Linked DNA regions of Homo sapiens: region 2 is linked to region 1. Evidence: promoter capture Hi-C in 16 types of primary human blood cells and fetal thymus (Javierre and others, 2016). All regions are on one chromosome and are shown on one strand. Each heading gives the region's core, a stretch centred on a gene start or on the middle of the fragment in contact. The rest is flanking DNA. Distances are from core to core; before and after follow the strand shown. Region 1 holds the start of RRH (retinal pigment epithelium-derived rhodopsin homolog). Region 2 overlaps MCUB (mitochondrial calcium uniporter dominant negative subunit beta).

Region 1 (6,407 bases), core at 2,864-5,363:
AGGAATAGAGTTGAGTTCCCCATCAAGAAAAGAATTACTTGGTGATCAATCCCCAACTATTGTCAGAGAGGGACAGTTTCCAAGCACCAACATACAACATCAGCTCAGTAAAAACTTTTAACATATCTTGGCACTTCAGTCAGAACTTCTGCCTTAGCCTGTTAAACTAACCTTCCAGATTCCTGTTCTTTTCCTCTCCTTGCTTCTGGCAGAATCAGCTTGCTATAACATAGACTTAACCATGGTTCTTCTCCTCCCGAAAACTTGTAGTATTTCCCACTGGCTGTGGGATAACAATCCAAATTTCCCAACCTGATATTCCAGGCTCTTTGCCTCATCTGTTGTCACTCTCTAGAAGCAAATTTCTACACTTGTCAAGTGAACTCTCCATTCTAGTTTTTGCCCAGATACACCATGCTTGACTCATATTTCTCCCACTTGGAGCACCCTGCTCCTTCTCTTTTCCTATCCAAATGCCATCCATCCTTCAAACTTCAGTTCAAGCCCCTAAGCCTTATCCTACCCACACTATCCTCTCCTCCCTAAATTTCCAAACTACTTGCTTATGATTAACTGAGTCTTATGTAACACTATATAATTTAACTGTTACTTTTCCTTGTCTTTTCATGTGGATTTCAGGCTCCTCATGATTTCTGTGGTTTTTGAATACGTGACATACAGCAGATTTATTTAATAAGTGGGCTACAACTAAAACCCATATTGCTTAATTTCTATCATTCCTTCAAGATAATTAGCACACAATGACAGCAAATTTGATGATTCTTTGGCCCTATTTTTAGCATCTAGGATTGTAGCATGTATACAAGATATACTCCGAAGAATTTAATGAAATGAAGACTCTTTCTGGGCTAGCTACAAATTCAATGACTTTTTAAAGTTAGATAAAAACAGTGCAGTAAATTGCTGCCTACCAAGTACGCAACCAGAATAAAGGAACTATAATTCTGGGAGTCTTAGAAATAATGGGGGTTATGAACTAAACAGTTTAGCCCTTTTCTCTATTCTCTCTGCAGCTGTACCAAGCACACTGCCTTGTTTCCACAGCTGTAGGTCTTCTAATGAGTATACAAAAGATCACCTAGTTGTTAGATTTTAGTTAAGTCCCATTTCACAGTCAGTCTAAACACTAAGTAGCACTTGATGTTGATTTCTCCTTCACTCTTGAAACATTTTCCTTCTTGTCTTCCGTGACTTCCGTGCAATCTCTTCAACAGACCCTTCTTGATCTACTTCCTGGCCTTTCTTTCTCCATCTATGTCTTATTAAATATGTGCATTGTCCAACCTTCTGTCCTAGATCCCTTTCTTTTCACATTTAACACATACTCTGAGTAATTTCTTCATACCCAAGGCTATACCCTGATATTTTTCAGCCTCCGGACACTCAAACCCATGTGTCCAGCTTTTTATTGGACACCTCTCAAACTGAACTGAGAGACTTTTTCTCCTGCCTCAAACCTGTTCTTCCCCAGGTGTGTTCCCATCTGATGAAGAGCATCACCATCTATTCAGTGGCTCAAAAAAGAAACCTAGGCATCATCTTTGATACTTCTCTCCTTCTCCCACAATCCCAACATCCAATCATCAATTCCACCTTCTGGCTCTTGAATGTATCTACTTTTTTCTGTCCCCACTGCGATTACTCCCTCCTCAGAATCACTGCAATGGCCTCCTATGTGGTCCCTTAGCTACCACTATAGCACATTTCTAAAACACAAATCAGATCATGTCACTCCCATTTCAAACCCTTCAGTGACTCCCTGTCACCTTTAAAACTTACACGGCTCATCACTGTCTGGTACTCAGCCATCTTTTTCAACCTCTCACCCTTCATTTTACAGTTCAAACATAATGATTTATTTCAGATCCTCAAATTCACCATGTCCTCTTACCTCCCAGCCTTAACTGGGGAAAGGGAGAGTGCTCAAGGACACTAAATTAACAAAATGTCTGTTGCACTGGAAGTTGTAACAGTTTATAGGAGCCAAACTATAAATGAAAGATCAAATTAAAAATTAAATAAAAAATCTAAATAGGCCCTTGGTAAAAGTAACGAATGAAATAAATGCTTTCACTACACCCTTTCCTCATAGTTTTGGTTTTGATTTGCAACTTTAAGTGAGTTTTGTTAAAGGAGGAAAGTTAGGGGATCTAAAGAAAAATAGATGCTTGATACAGGGGCAGAACAAAAGCATAAAGAGTTCAGCTATGCTTCCTTCAGTGGATCCACCAGAAACACAAACAACACACACTCATTGTATACCTTGATAAAGCTGACTCTTGGATTTATATGTGAGGGCTCTAGAACCAAAATGCCTGGGTTCAAATCCTGGTGTAGCTGCTTAGTAAATGTGTGTGCTGGACAAGTTTCTTAAGCTCTTCATCTGTATAAACTAGAGAAATAAAACTGAAGAGTAACTTACTAAATTAGTGTAAGGATGAATTATTCTGTATGTGTAAGGTTTTAGAACAGTGCTTGGTATATAGCAAGTATTCAAATGATAACATTAGTAGCAGTAGTAGTAAGATTACTATTATTATTACTGTTACAGAGATAAGAACTAAATAGAATATTTTCTGCATGCTAATTTTGTAACCAGGTCAAAAAAGGATAGTTTTGGTTGTTTTTTGGATTTTTTTTTTTTTTGGTCATCTACAAATAACTAACTAAACCAAACACTTGTATACAAAGTATTTCCATGTAATTGTTAGGAGATTTTCTCAGTCTTTTTTGCAATTACAAAAAAACTAGAACTTGTCTAGTACTTATCATAGAGGTATTCAAATGAACGAGATAACGTCACTAAAATCGCAAAACTTAACTGAGGAACTCAATTTCCAGTACTAGAAGTAATACGCTGAATTATAAGGAAGAAACGTAAACAATTATAAACTGGGTATAGGATGGTGTGTTATACTTTTCACTCTACTTTTGAATGTTTGAAAATTTTTATAAAAGTCAATCCAAAAAATAATGAACTCAATATAAGAGTTACTTCTACAACTCGTTAGAGTATAAAGTTGAAAATTAAGTGATTGCTCAATATAAAAGTTACACAATTCAATGATACATTAAAAAGATAAAAAGTTTCTGTCATTCCCCCATCCCTTTTTTTCTGCAAACAATCCTTTACATCAATGAGTGTGTAGGGAGGAAAGGGAAAAAGAAACAAATATTTGTCCAACACCTACTATATGGCATTTATGTGTCACTTAATTTTACTCCTTATAACAATCATGACAGATAACTTATTCTTATCCTTGTTTTACAGATGAGAAAATGGAAGAACAAAAAGGGAAGATACATGCTCACAGTTGCAAATATACTAAAAGATGAAATCCAAAACTCAAGAGTTTTCCAATAAGCATTCTGGAACAAGCTGAATTTTCAGACTCTGTCCTCAATGACAATATACCCTGCTCTGTCTTCTTAGGACTTTTTCTTTCCAGAACCTTTAAGTTCTTAGCTAAATTCTACCACCAAGAACAAAAATATGAGGGTTATGTATAAGAATAGTAAATGACATAAAAATATGTTTTTGCCATGGTGCATACTCTTCTCCAATAAAAACTTTAACAATCCAATAATCAAATACATAGATTTTTATGAAAGAACTATTTATCACATAGAAAACTTTTCTCAGCCCCACTTCACTGCTCTTATTTACCAAAATTCAAAATAACCTGTGGCAATGGCCATCACTAACAATGCTTTCCCTTATTCTTTCACCCACATTATCTTATTTGATCTTTACAGCCCAGAAATAGAGTATCATCATCCTCATTTACCAACGAGCAAGCCAAGTCAGGATAAATGACTTGTCAAGGTTGGCCAATAATATGGAACTTGAAACAATGCATGCCTTATGCTGAAAACTTCTGCCTTTCTTCACCCATTCTAAAGAAAAATAACTTACTTAAATATCCATACCTGCCATAATCAAGTAAGTTGCAACAATATTGTGTTCAGTCTGTGAAAAGACCGAGCCATCTTCATTTTTAGAGTCTGAACTGTTGCCTAAATTATTTCTTAGCATTTTGGAGGGAAGATACCGAAACACCCTTCATAATAAGCCTTCGATAATTATGAACTGCTTTATGAGCTACTGAGGAAAGATTTTTTAGGACCAATCATTTCCACTTAGAGACCTCAAAGAAGGGCCTTTTCATAGAGGCCCTCCCTTAACAAATTTAATTGGGCTAAAGAGGAAAGGACTTTAATTCCCAGAATAAGGGAAAAGCTTATTAGCAAAACAAAAAGAAATACCAAGCACCACACATTTTAACCTATTTGGGCATCAGTCTTCTATCTAAGGAGATTATCAAGCACACACATCCCATTTAACAATAAACAAACTCAGGAAATCAGTATAGGAGCCAGCCTTAGTCCTCTAAAACTATTCGGATTAAGGTCCCTGTTTTCTGTTGACCATTCAAGTCTTTCCATTTCGGCTCCTTTTGTTGTTTTTTTTTTCTTAACAATTTAAATATTAGTGACAAAGAAGTAGTCTCCTTCCTACTTCCAAATCTCACTCTCCTAAAGGTACCAGTATTGTTTGGTGCATATCCTTTCTTAGGCTTTTCTCTGCTTATACACATATTCATACAAGTGTTTCAGGTTTCCTCCACTTTCTTCTTGTAAATAAAAATGAGGGAAAAAAATAAGTACAAATGTATATATATAATGCAACTTGTTTTCCCATAAGGCTGTATTATAATATCCAAGTTAATAAACCCAGAATCTAATAAAGTCTAATTTATTAGTAGCTATGTATTTCATAGCATGGATATAATATGATCAACTCCACCATCCGTTAATTTCCCCTATAGTTTGATATGCACATGAGTAATTAATATTATCTGATGATAGTAATCATTGTATACTTTGCCAGAGTATCTGAATTCAATCACTGATATTGTAAAGTACAGAATAAAAATATTCTGGATTATCACATTACAACCTGAAAACCAACCTGAGCATGTTTTGTTAGAATAATAAGGTATCCCTATTACCTTTTTTCCCATATTCTTTATGCCATTAACATTATTAAAATCTGATTCTCCTCAGTTTCCTAAAATCAGTAAACATTAGAGAAATGCTTAGATGCACCAAAGTTAACAGTGTAAGCATAAAACAGAACCACTAGAGGGCTATATTTACCCACTTAGTTTAATTTTATAAAAATCCTAGAATGGCACAGCAGAAACCTAAGATAATCCTTTTGCTTCAGTTCTCTTGCCTGTGTATAAACTCAAGATGAACAGGTTGATTTATCTGTCCCAAATCTTATAGCTACCAGTACTCACATTTTTATAAATGTAATATTGTTATACCTATACTAGAAAAGCGAATCTCGTCAGTATTGTTTTCAAATGACCCTAGAGCAAAAAACATAATACCCAAGAGGAAATCACTCCCTTTAAAAAGTCTTTGTCTTTTCTTTCATTCAATATGCAAAACAAAACTTAAAATTTTTGAATTTGCTTTGGGTCATACTACCTTCCTTTTCTGTAATAAGTTATACCTAGTTGTAGCATCCATGAAAAATTTTCCAGAAATAATTATTTCTAAGAACTGAAAAATATATAATTTCAGATAGTCAGCTTTCTGCTGCAGATGAAAGTTTTGATATGAGTGAGGTAGGTGCATTTGAAGTTCTTTTTTATGCTTCCTTCATGGGTGATACAGAAAAGCTATATTGGGATAAGGCTTAGAAATACATGTGAATTTGATTCAAAATGAAATGCCTCAAAAAAACCCAGAAACTAGGCCAGGCGCAGTGGCTCACACCTGTAATCCCAGCACTTTGGGAGGCCAAAGCAGGCGGATCACCTGAGGTCAGGAATTCGAGACCAGCCTGACCAACATGGAGAAACCCCATCTCTACTAAAAATACAAAATTAGCCGGGCATGGTGGCGCATGCCTGTAATCCCAGCTACTTGGGAGGCTGAGGCAGGAGAATCGCTTGAACCCGGGAGGTAGAGGTTGCAGTGAGCCGACATTGCACCATTGCACTCCAGCCTGGGCAACAAGAACAAAACTCCGTCTCAAAAAATAATAATAATAAATAAACAAATAAATAAACCCAGAAACTATAAGGAAAAAAAAGGAAAAGATGTGGAAATAAAAGCTTAAAGATGGACAATGAAAAAAAGATATACATAAGCTAAACGGTAAAATTTCCAACTGGTTTGTCTACTGATCTATATGTTATTTCCATTATTGCCATTTTAGATTTATTTTTAATGTTAAAAAAACAAACTGTAGAAATGTTGCGCTATTATTATTTGTCCTTGGGACAATGCCATCACCCTTTGGTGCTTACTAACATCTTTTCCAAACCACGAGCAAAAGCCCTGGCCCTAACACTCCATGAAAATTTCAT
Region 2 (6,407 bases), core at 2,299-4,798, 250 kb after region 1:
CTTGTTCATTTTTGTTCTCCAGGAATTAAGGGGATTTCCTTCATAGGGTTCATCTTCAGTTTGCCCATGTCTATTTCTGTGCTTCAAAAAAGAGAGAGGAGAAAAATAGGGCAATGTCATTTTTTGAAAGCATGAGATTCTTTGGGAGGCCGAGGCAGGAGAAGCACTTGCGCCAGGAGTTCGAGACCAGCGTGTGAACACAGTGAGACCTTGTCTCTACAAAAAATTTAAAAAAAGAAAAATTGGCCAGGCATGGTGGTGCACACCTGTAGTCCCAGCTATCTGGGAGACTGAGGCAGAAGGACTGCTTGGGCCCAGGAGGTTGAGGCTGCAGTAAGCTAAGTAAGCTATGATAGATAGCATCTCTGGACTCTAGCCTGGGTAACAGAGTAAATCTGTTTCAAAAAAAAAAAAAGTATGAGATTCATTATGAAGACCTGGATTTAAGTCCTGGCTCGACTACCTACTAACTGTGTGAAACATTTACTTAACCTTTCTGGGCCTCAATTTTCCCATCTATATAAGATGTATGACAAGGCCATGTAGAAATTATATGAGATTGTACATACAGAAAATATTTTGTAACAAGTTATTTTTAATGAGTTATCAAATTTTCATACATCAACCAGCCATTCAGATTTCAAGAACTATATTCCCATATATTGGTTTATGAGCACTTAGGAGGATAACTTTAAAATTTAAGATACTGGATTTTTTGTGTGTGGGGGGAAGAGAGAGAGATTGGTTTTAAGCAACAAAAGAGATAGCTATGTACTAAACTCTAATTTTGCTACAGATACGATACTGAGCCAAACTCTTTTGAAGTTCCTTGCCCAATATTCTTGGATTATTTGAAGTCATATTTGACATCTGACTATGCAAAGAATCAAACTCTCTTTTAATTAATTGAAGTTTTCCACATAAAACTGATGTGGCTAGGTCACTTTTGTGGTCCCTTTTAATATTTAATCTCATAGGTCTTAAAGAATTCAAGTACCCGGCCGGGCGCGGTGGCTCACACCTGTAATCCCAGCACTTTGGGAGGCCGAGGCGGGCGGATCACGAGGTCAGGAGATCGAGACCATCCTGACCAACATGGTGAAACCCCGTCTCTACTAAAAATACAAAAAATTAGCCGGGCGAGGTGGCGGGCGCCTGTAGTCCCAGCTACTCGGGAGGCTGAGGCAGGAGAATGGCGTGAACCCCGGGGGGCGGAGCCTGCAGTGAGCCGAGATCGCGCCACTGCACTCCAGTCTGGGCGACAGAGCGAGACTCCATCTCAAAAAAAAAAAAAAAAAAAAAAAAAAAAAGAATTCAAGTACCCATTTTAGGCTATGAAACGATCAAGTTTTAGCAATATTCAAAGCTCTACTTCAATTAAGTCAGGTGACAGGCTGGGTCTGAGCCTTAGTTGCTTTATCAGTTGATCAATAAATACAGGGTAATATCAGTACCTATTTCCCAGGACTCCCAGAAGTGAGGGGGACTGAGTGAGACAAAGCTCATGATAGTGTATGGCACATGCTAAGCATTAGCTATCGTTTTACATGTATTATTAATGAAACAAAAGGAGTGCTGACTTCAAAAGCTGCTGGTATTAAAAACTGCACAGGATTTACTTGGAAAAAATTAGCTCTGTCATTAAAAATGATTGAATAAAGCACCTGAAGTTTTAACCTGGACTGAGGATTTTTCCATTTCAGTTTTAATAATATTAGAAAGTTCATGATTAAAGGAACCATAAAGAAATAATTTCTGCCCAGGTGTGGTGGCTCACGCCTGTAATCCCAGCACTTTGGGAGGCGGAGGCAGGCAGATCACTTGAGGTAAGAAGTTCAAGACCAGCCTGGCCCACATGGCGAAACCCTGGCTCTACTAAAAATACAAAAATTAGCTGGGCGTGGTGGCACATGCTTGTAATCCCATCTACTCAGGAGGCTGAGGTGGGAGGATCACTTGAACCTGGGAGGCAGAGGCTGCAGTGAGGCGAGATTGCGCCACTGCACTCCAGCCTGGGCAACAAAGTGAGACTCCATCTCAAAAAAAAACAAGAAAGAAAAGAAAGAATTTCTGAGTATCTGGCTTGGCCCTTGACACAGGGTTGTTGTCCACAACCCCTTCATCTTGCCCATCAATAGTAGTCCAAGGTTAGTACACCATCCCTAGTGGTTCCCCTGCGCCCACATCTCTGTGAATCATCCTTTGTGTATAAACTTCCCTCTAATTATCCTAATCTAAGTGGGCCATCTGTTTCCTGTTGGACCATGAATTATACAATCACTTTACACTCTCACTAGCAACACAAAAGAGTTCCCACATCATGCCATGCTTTACGCTTTGAGTTTTTTGTTTTTCTTTGGCAATTTGACAGGCAAAAAAAAAAAAAAAAAGGCAAATGTTATCTTTTTCTACTATTGTTTTTGCATTTTTTTGACTATCAGTGAGGCTGACCACTTTTCATGTTTATTTGCATTTTTATTCCCTGTTCTGAAAACCACTCATGTCTTTTACCCATTTCTTAATGTTTTTCTGATAAGTTTGAATGATCACTTCATATATATTTGTTATTTGGATGAAAGAAACAAATACCTACTTGACTTACCATAAGTAAGAATGGAAATTTACTCTGAGGACTTAGGAATGTCTCTAACGGAGACTACATAGAAGGATTTAATTAAGCCTCAGGAATGGACTCAGGATCAGGAACTGGAGTGTTATATTGAGGTTGGGAAGTCCTCTTGATCCGTATTTCGTCTCCTCCTATCTGCCTGTCAGCATCATTCTGCTTATCACTATAAAATGAATTGTTACTGCTTCTTGGTCCACATGGTAGAAAATGGTCACCACCAAATGGCCCCAAGTACAACTCCACTATTCAAAAGAGCAGCCAGCAGAGGTGAGAATCCTAGACTTAGTTCTAAATTCCTGGGTCAGGTGGCCAATTGAATGAAGGTCAGGTTGGACTAAGATGGCCAATTCGACTAAACCAGGTAGATAAGAGTGAAAAGGTTCCCAGGAAAGCAGTGTGACTAGCACAGACTACAAAGCTGTTCTAAAGTTTCAAAACCAAGAATATTACTATGCTATTATAATATTAATAATTTTAATGGTCACTGCTATACTTATGAAATGACCTTTTTCTAATGTCTAATAGCCTTACATAAATGGGATAACTATAAAGATATTTCATCCTAATTTAGTGTGAAAGATACATTAAGGTGGTATATTTTCTCTCCAAGAGAGGTTAGACTTTGGTGTCAGTTTTCACATAATTGCAGGCATAACAACTGTTGATTACGATGCTTAGTCACTGGCACAAATTCAGACTCCACTAATTAAATGGCAGCACAATCCCACTAAATTGAATAAACTAATTAAACGAATGTGGCTGGATTCGTTATAAAGTGAATTTCATATGTCAAGATGGACTATAACCTGTCAGTACAGCAGCCAAGCTTAAGCTCAAATGAACAACAGTTATGAGTAGTACACTTGAGTTGGTTTCAGGCAAAACCTCACAACAAACAGTCTAACCCCCAATGACCTTTTACAGAAAGATTAATAATATCATATCAATAAAAAGCTAAAACAAAATTACTCTCACTAAATAGTTATTACACTATAAATAAGCCAAAGCTTTTCCTTGGTGGGGAAGGCAGATGGTAAGGAGCGGGCAGAACAAGGGATGAACAGCAGTAGGCTAATTTTAGCAAGGCATCTGAGTTTATCAATCTCCAAACCTCAGTGGTTTCTGACATTGTGATAGATATCAAAGCTGGGTACCCAAGGGACCTCAGAGAACATCAGCGATGAAAGGAAGCGTAGAGATTAAGATCACCTCAGCTTCCATTCTGACCTGCGGCAGCCCTGGGTCTCAAATGCTCCTATTTAAGCTAACTTTTTGGCTTCTCAATAATCTACCCATCTTTCTTTCTACTCAGTCTAACTTCTCATGCAATTGTTAAGTCTCATACTTTTTTTGGATCTCTGTCTTACCCAATCCATCTCTGGGTTGGATTCTCTGTCCCTGGAACAAGTGCTGCTTCCCTGATTTCTATTCTAGGCACTAACACTGTATTTAAAATGAGCACTTCGTTATCAGTGCTTGACCAGTCCGGCTCTGTCTCCCATCCCTCCTTGGCCTGACCAGCGTGGCAGTGCTCATGAGTGCAGCTGCCACCTTCAAGTACTGCACAACAGCTGCTGTCTCATTCCTCATATGATGGTTATTAACGTCTTGTATATGCCCTCAAATTCTCCCTTTTTGACTGCTCTGTGAAAATAGATCTGGGACCTTTAAATATTTTTCCTTTGCTGACTGGCACTGAAGTTTTTTCAGTAGAGGACACTAGAGAGCCACTGACGGAGGAAAAGATTTTGCTTCCTGGTTCGGGTGTGTTCACTTCACAGGCTCCTATTGCATAGATATAGATGGCTTCTCCAGCACCAGGCTCTAGCTGTGTTGGCAGTTTTTCCAGTGCTTCTTTAGCTTCTGCCTGAGTTATTTTAGAAACTTGGGAGTCCTACACTTCAAGAAGCAGTCTATTAGGGAACAGCCAGAATGGATACAAAAATTTTCTTGAACTGAGCTGAACTCTGCCTACCTATTCTGCTCTATCTTGGGAGTAATTTCCTTGCTTGGAAGCAACACAGAATGACAACCTTCTTTCACATGATACCATCTCAGATATTTGAATGCAAATATCTTGCTTTTCCTCAGCTTCTTTTTCACTAGATTAAAAATATGCAGCCCCAGTCGGGCACAGTGGCTGACACCTATAATCCTGGCACTTTGGGAGGCAGAGCCAGGAGTTCAACACCAGTCTGGCCAACACGGTAAAACTCTGATTGTACTAAAAACGCAAAAATTAGCCGGGCATGGTGGTGGCGCGCCTGTAATCCTAGCTTCTTGGGAGGCTGAGGCAGGAGAATAGCTTGAACCTGGGAAGTGGAGGCTGCAGTGAGCCGAGATTGCGCCACTGCAATCCAGCCTGAGCAACAGAGCGAAACTCTGTCTCAAAAAAAAAAAAAAAAAAAAAAATTCAACCCTTTTAATCATCTCCTACAAGAACTCTCACCATCTTAATCATCTTCTGAATGCACCTCCCTGTCCAGCTTTGTTAGTGTTCTTTGTAAAGTACTGCCCCAGTAACAAAACACAATGCCCTTGACTCAGTCTGACAATCAATGTGACAATCCCAATGTAATGAAATGGAACTGTTTCTTGCTGTAATCAGATGCTGCATTTCTCTTCAATTAGTTAGGAGCCATACTAGCTTCTAGAATCCATCATTCATGAGTGGATCAACGGAAACTTCCAGATCCTTTGTACACAACTACCAAGCCAGGACTCCCTCATCCTATACATACTTTTCTCCCCCATTAAGAGAAACAACCTTTTCCTAGCATTGCTAAATCGGTTTTGTTTCTACCACTCTTCCTTTTTTTTTTTTTTTGAGATGGAGTCTCACTCTGTCGCTCAGGCTGGAGTGTGGTGGCGCGATCTCCGCTCATTGCAAGCTCCACCTCCCAGGTTTACGCGGTTCTGCTGCCGCAGCCTCCCGAGTAGTGGGGACTACAGGTGCCCACCACCACGCGTGGCTAATTTTTTTGTATTTTTAGTAGAGATGGGGTTTCACAGTGTTAGCCAGGATGGTCCCTATCTCCTGACCACATGATCTGCCCACCTCGGCCTCCCAAAGTGCTGGGATTACAGGCGTGAGCCACCGTGCCCAATCTGTTCCTAATATTCTTAAAGCAATGGTTAATATGTGCTTACTAAGTGCAGATTAGTCTGGTGCAGTGTAGGATGAGAATAATAAGACTCCAGAAAAAGACAATTCCACAGGACCTACAATGATATTTTATGTTTTGACATTGCTGGGCACAGGTACAGTTTATAATATGTTTATATCAGTAATAATAATATTAAATACTTCCAATACTACATATATGTACATATTATAAATAGCACTTTGGACAACTCATTAATTGAAGCCTTACTAATATTCCACAGACAATACACAAGAGTGACTAGTTCAAGAAATATATAATGTAGCTATGGCAATCTAGCCATTTCATTATATAAAGCAATAATTATATTGTAGTAGTATGAAAAGCCATTGAAAATATATCTAATATCTCAAAGTTATGCATTTGAAACTGATCAATAGTGACATCCAAATCTGACAAATTAAAAAACCAAGTATATAAGTGACGTAATTAAGTAAATAACATGACTTCATTATATGAAGTCATGCTAATATAGTTATTAATCTCTTTCTAAATATACCCTGAACTAGAGTGAATTAGTGTCAGTTATGATATTATATACTAAGACACGTTTTATTCTGAGATACAGTTAGTTAACATCTTTCAACTATCCTAAATATCTAAGATTTCCAGTT

The links. The method cuts DNA at HindIII sites, captures the fragments that hold promoters and counts their contacts. A CHiCAGO score of 5 or more calls a contact.
Region 2: a contact is called between a fragment that was not itself captured here and the fragment with the promoter of RRH in region 1, in 1 of 17 cell types (megakaryocytes). The highest score is 5.2, in megakaryocytes.

What each region holds. Positions count from the first base shown.
Region 1 is chr4:109,825,678-109,832,084 of GRCh38, reverse strand. It overlaps RRH (retinal pigment epithelium-derived rhodopsin homolog), which reads right to left and starts at 4,113. Exons shown (of 7, transcript NM_006583.5): 1 at 3,952-4,113. The coding sequence starts at 4,057. The HindIII fragment of the contact is 4,893 bases long and covers 1-4,263 here.
Region 2 is chr4:109,572,502-109,578,908 of GRCh38, reverse strand. The region is part of intron 1 of MCUB (mitochondrial calcium uniporter dominant negative subunit beta); the gene reads right to left. Among named protein-coding and RNA genes, the nearest start is that of MCUB, 15 kb to the right of the region's middle. The HindIII fragment of the contact is 181 bases long and covers 3,458-3,638 here.